Regions from separate parts of the Homo sapiens genome. Here region 2 is linked to region 1. The links are contacts of gene promoters, found by promoter capture Hi-C in blood cells and fetal thymus (Javierre and others, 2016). All regions are on one chromosome and are shown on one strand. Each heading gives the region's core, a stretch centred on a gene start or on the middle of the fragment in contact. The rest is flanking DNA. Distances are from core to core; before and after follow the strand shown. Region 1 holds the start of WFDC8 (WAP four-disulfide core domain 8). Region 2 holds the start of WFDC13 (WAP four-disulfide core domain 13).

Region 1 (2,700 bases), core at 18-2,517:
TATGGAACAATAGGAACTCTCAACTACCAATGGCAAGGCTGTGAATTGGTACAAACTCTTTGGGAAATAATTTGGTATCAGCTTGAGAAGCTGAAGATATGCATACCCTGTAACCCATCATTCCCTATGCTGAATGTATAACCTACAAGAACACCTGCCCACGTGCTCCAGCAAATGCACACAGAGTGTTCATAGCAGCTTTATTCTTTTTTTTACATGAGTAAATTGTTTAAAATTTTTTTGACATTTAAAAACATTTATTAATTCATTTAACGTAATAAACTTATTACATGTTGATATAAATAACATTTTTATTTAGAAAATCCTAGTTTTTTATTATACTTTAAGTTCTGGGATACACGTGCAGAACGTTATTACATACATGCTATGTATACACACAGCAGCTTTATTCTTAACAGCTGCAAACTATAAACAACTCAGTAGAGATGTGTGTAGTCATACAATAGATGGCATGGCAATGAAAATTGACAAAATACAGCTACACAAAACAATGTGGATGGAATTCATTAATATAATGTTGAACACAAAAAGCCAGGCACAAAAGAATACATTCCAAGTGACTCCATTGATATAGAACAGAAGCAGACAAAAACAAAAACATATTTAGGGGAATACATATGATCTTGAAAATATGAAAAAGAAAGTCACTACCATTAGCTGCCTTTGAGAGCATAGGAAGGGGTTGTGACTGGAAAAGAATGAAAAAGGAGCAGAAAGTGTTGGAAATTTTTTACTTGATTTCAGTGATAGTTTAATGAGTGGTCACTTCGTAATAGTTCGTTAGACTGAACATTAATGTTTCATGCATATTTTTATTTTTGTGGTGTTTTTCACAATACATATTTTTACAAAAAGGAAAAGTAGCTCTTCCTTGTTTTGTCTCCTTTTCTTTACTAACTGAACTAGTCAGTCCTAAAGCCATTAGATAGGCACATTTAGCAAGGTAGGCGTTTGCCCCAAGGGGAAGGGAGCCACGGCTGGCTCCGTGTGGGCATCAGAGCTGGAACAGGTCAAGGAGGGTGTCTCTGTAGGAGGGCTGCTGGCCTGGTGTGCTGGAGCCAGGGGTAGATGAGAATGCCCAGTGAAGAGGCAAGAAGCAGCATAGCATGGAGACCAGCCTGCCCATGTTGAGAAAGGCATCCCCCTGGGGCTAGAGGGGCAGACTGGCATAGAATGAGAGCCTGAGTGGGGTGAGCAGAGTGTCCAGGCAGGGGAGCAGATGAGGGAGGAGCCTTAGAGCTGGAGCAAAGTGAGGAAGCTGTCTCCATAGGGAAGAGGCCTGATGTGGACTGTCCGAACTGAAGGAGGGTGAGGAGGGTGTCTATGGGGGTGGGTAGCCAGACATGGAGGGTCTGAGCCCAAGGAGATGAGGAGGATACATAGAAGTTAGAGTGGTCGGCTGTGGGGAGTTGGGCCAAGCATAGTGAGGAGGGGTTCCACAGAACAGAGCTGTCTTGTGTCAGGAATCAGAGCCTAAGCAGGGTGAAGAGGGCATCAATGCATCCAGCGATTCTCCTGCCTTAGCCTCCCTAGTAGCTGGGACTACAGGTGTGCGCCACCACGCTCGGCTAAGTTTTGCATTTTTAGTAGAGACGGGGTTTCACCATGTTGGCCAGGCTGGTCTCGAATGCAACCTGATATGGCTGTTGGAGCCCAAGTAGGGTAAGTTGGGCATCTTTGAGTGGCCCAGTGTGGAGGGGCAGAGCCTGAGCAAGGTAAAGTTTGATATTTTAAATTAAACAAGCATATAATATGTATCTAAACATTTTCAAAAAATTAAAACAGGAGTAGTAGTGATGGGTTATATTATTATTCACAACTATTCATTCCATCTTTCCTTTAAGAGGACACTCCTGTCCATTACCTTGCAATTTTAGAACGGCCCGTGGAAGGAAGACACATTTCTGTCTCATTGACTTTGGGTTTGCTGTCAGCTGTGCTTTGCCTATTGGAGTATGAGCAGATGTAGCATATGCATAGTGAGTTTTGCACTGTGAGTTTCTGCCAGCTCCTTTGTGCTTTCTCTCTGCCAGGAGAAGGGGCCTAATCCACATAGAGGCTGCTTCTTTTGTCTTGGTCCCACAGCCTCAAGTAGAGCCCCCACTTGGAACAAAGCAGTAGACAATTTGCCTAGGAAGTCTTTTGTTGTGGCAAGCCATGGAGAGCTCAAAGTTCTTTGTACACCAAAGTAATAAAAATACAGTTGATTCCCATTACTTGGGGGTAGTTATGTTCTGTAAAGTCACTGTGAACACCGGATTAGCAAATACTGAGCCATTGCTCCTAGGGAAAATGCAAGCCTCTGACCACACATTTTCATCATTTGATCAATACATAACCTTGTTTTTATATGTGCTTCTGTCTGAAGACACATGACAGAGATGGTAATTAGAAGGTGCACACAGAAGACTTCTGGGAAGCTGGCTACTTTCTATTTTTTAATCTGTGTGGTTAATTATTAAATAAAACTCTACATACTTTATTTATTTATTTATTTTTATTTTTATTTTTTTTGTTTTGTTTGAGAGGGAATCTCTCTCTGTCCCCCAGGCTGGAGCATAGTGGTGTGATCTCGGCTCTCTGCAACCTCCACCTTCTGGGTTCAAGGGATCCTCCTGCCTTAGCCTCCTGAGTAGCTGGGACTACAGGTGTGCACCACCACTCCAGGCTAATTTTTGT
Region 2 (2,700 bases), core at 67-2,566, 120 kb before region 1:
AGGTTCAAGCTGTTGACAATTTAACAGAGACCAATAACTAGTACTCACCCCTGGCCTCTCAGCTATTCTATAGCTCACTGGGGCACTGCAAGAAATTGGAACTAATCCACACTTTGAAGAGCTTGGGGCTCAACAGAGCAGTTTAGAGATAGACACCATGATCCAGAGATCTCAGAGAGGTCACCCTTTTCAAGTCTTGACCCCTCTTCTGGGTATCTGGTCCCAACTTCACTCACAGCATTTACCAGTCTTTTAGAAAGCCTCTTTGTGCCTTTCCTCAAATTCTGATTCTCCAATTAACTCTACCCTGGGCACTCCTATTTTCTTGTAGCTTGCTTAGTCCCTCTTAGTCCTACAAACCTGCATGCCTTTTCTGAAACTTCTTAAGCAGGACCTAGCCTCCCCAGACACATGAGCTACCACACTTATCCCTCTTCTGAGCCGCCAGTATTCTGAAGATGTTTTCCCCATAGAAGAGTGGATGTATGATGAATAACAGTTCTTTTCCCACTTGGTATTGGTTAAGGTCAACATTACTAGAGCCAGAGCTCTTTTGAGTTGAGCTGGGCAGTGGTGGCTGCTGAGATGGACTCTACACTGTCCCATTGATGCTAATTACCGGTAATTGTACAGTACCTCTGGAGTTTGAAAATGTGGAATAAAAGGCAAGACTTCCTTTCCCTCCTTCCCAAAACATCCTCCAAGGCCAAGGTTATGTAGATTCTAGCTTGAGTTCTACCAACTTCGTTGTCTCTCTGTTTTATTGCTTGAAAAGTGAGTCCAAGCATCCATGAAGGAGCCACGGGCAGCAAGACTAAGCTGGATGATGAGGCTGATCACATTTACAGCATTTAATATTACTGAGCATTTACCATGGTTTAGTAAGAGTGAGCTATGTCTGCATGCATTATCTGTTCTCCTCCTGTATTCATTATAAGGATAAAAACCTGAGGCCCAGATACTATGCCCAAGGTCACTCAGCAACAGAGCAGGGATTCAAACCTAGATCTTGCCAACAATAAAGCTTGGGCCCTTGAACATGACACGGTATTTTTCCAAGAGGTGTGACAGACTGTCAGCCCTCAGATCCTCTCCTATCCACACATGTTACTTCCCTCCTTGGGCCCAGATCCAGCACCTACTCAGAACACGCTGCTTGGGACTCCCAGGCACCAGCTGCAGTGCTAGGCAGAACACCACCAGGAACTGGAGAGGCAGCACAGGCTTCATGGTGTCAGTGGGATGGGTGAGTAAGTTCTGGCCAAGGGTTGCTGGGTTTGACCAGGCACTGCTGTGAGGAGAAGAGAAGGAAAGAGGGCAAAGTGGAGGCCCAGTGTGACTAGCCTTTCACCGTGTACTCCAATCAAAACCGGCAGGGCAGGAATCCAAGCACCTCCCAATCACACCCACTCCAGGGTCACGTAGTGTTTTCATATCCTCCTTTATTCCCCTAATCTTGACCTTGCTATCTCTTTCATCTGTATCTAGATCTTATTCATGTCCCTTAACATTTTTTTATAATTTTCCCCTGTGGAAATTGTACATGTTATATTTATTCACAGAGGATTGAATTTTTTTTTTTTTTTTTTGAGATGATGGAGTCTGGCTCTGTCACCCAGGCTGGAGTGCAGTGGTGCGATCTCTGCTCACTGCAGCCTCTTCCTCCCAGGTTCAAGCAATTCTTGTGTCTCAGACTCCTGAGTTGCTGGGATTACAGGCGTGTACCACCATGTCCAGCTAATTTTTGTATTTTTAGTAGAGATGGGGTTTCACTGTGTTATCCAGGCTAGTCTTGAACTCCTGACCTCAGGTGATCTGCCCTCCTCAGCCTCTCAAAGTGCTAGGATTACAGGTGTGAGCCACCGCGCCTGGTCTGAGGCTTGAAGTTTTTAAAAGGAAATTGTAAATGTTATCATAACTTTTCAACTAATTCCTTTTGTTTACTGCTAATGTAGAGAAGTTAACTTTCCAGTTTGCTCAAAAATCTCCACCATGACAATTATTTGACCTCACTGAAACCAATAAACATTGACTCTTCACTTCCCTATTTCGTAGTCCTCCCCTATAGGCGTTTACTTTTCTTTCTATCAATGTAGGACTCAGAACCTGTCATTTAAATCTCCTTGCTTGAATCTACCTACAAAAACTGCAACCCTGAATGAATCCAACCATCAATTTCATTGAAGCTTGAACCTAGGCAGATAATTGTTGCTGGGGGAAAATAACTCAACTGGGCTACTAAACAGCACAATAGATGCACCATCACCAAACCAAAAAGGGTCTGGCAATCTTACTAAGTTTCTTCAGTAAGCCAGTGTTCCCACTTTCTACAAATACTATTTCAAACTTGCTTTCCTCTCTTTAAAGCTTGGATCTTTTCTTCTTTCCACAAATTTGTAACTAGTTAGCTTGCTAAATTCTCCCATTGTTTATTATGGTTTCTTTGTGTGTTCTCTTCAGTGTTTATCATAGGCAAATAAGCAGTTATAGTTTTCTTCTTCAAACTTTATGCCATTTTTAATGCCTCACTGTGCTCGCTAGGCCCTTGAGTACATCATATGTAAGTGGTGATAGTGTGTATTTTTGTCTGATACCTGATTTAAAATGAAAACTTCTTGTTTCCCCTTTTAGAATTGTCTCCACTTTAGGTTTCTCATAAGTACCCTCTATCAGGTTTAGAAATTTTTCTTTCATTCCTAA

Evidence for each region. Contacts are between HindIII fragments. The CHiCAGO score rates a contact against its expected background, and 5 or more counts as called.
Region 2: a contact is called between the fragment with the promoter of WFDC13 here and the fragment with the promoter of WFDC8 in region 1, in 11 of 17 cell types (M2 macrophages, M0 macrophages, endothelial precursors and 8 more). The highest score is 9.2, in M2 macrophages.

What each region holds. Positions count from the first base shown.
Region 1 is chr20:45,577,851-45,580,550 of GRCh38, reverse strand. It overlaps WFDC8 (WAP four-disulfide core domain 8), which reads left to right and starts at 1,267. Exons shown (of 6, transcript NM_130896.3): 1 at 1,267-1,329. The coding sequence starts at 1,304. RefSeq lists an enhancer at 1,517-2,452. The HindIII fragment of the contact is 6,723 bases long and covers 1-2,700 here.
Region 2 is chr20:45,700,654-45,703,353 of GRCh38, reverse strand. WFDC13 (WAP four-disulfide core domain 13) reads right to left here and starts at 1,316. Exons shown (of 4, transcript NM_172005.2): 1 at 1,143-1,316. The coding sequence starts at 1,230. All of the region lies in intron 2 of WFDC10B (WAP four-disulfide core domain 10B), which reads left to right. The HindIII fragment of the contact is 1,162 bases long and covers 1,027-2,188 here.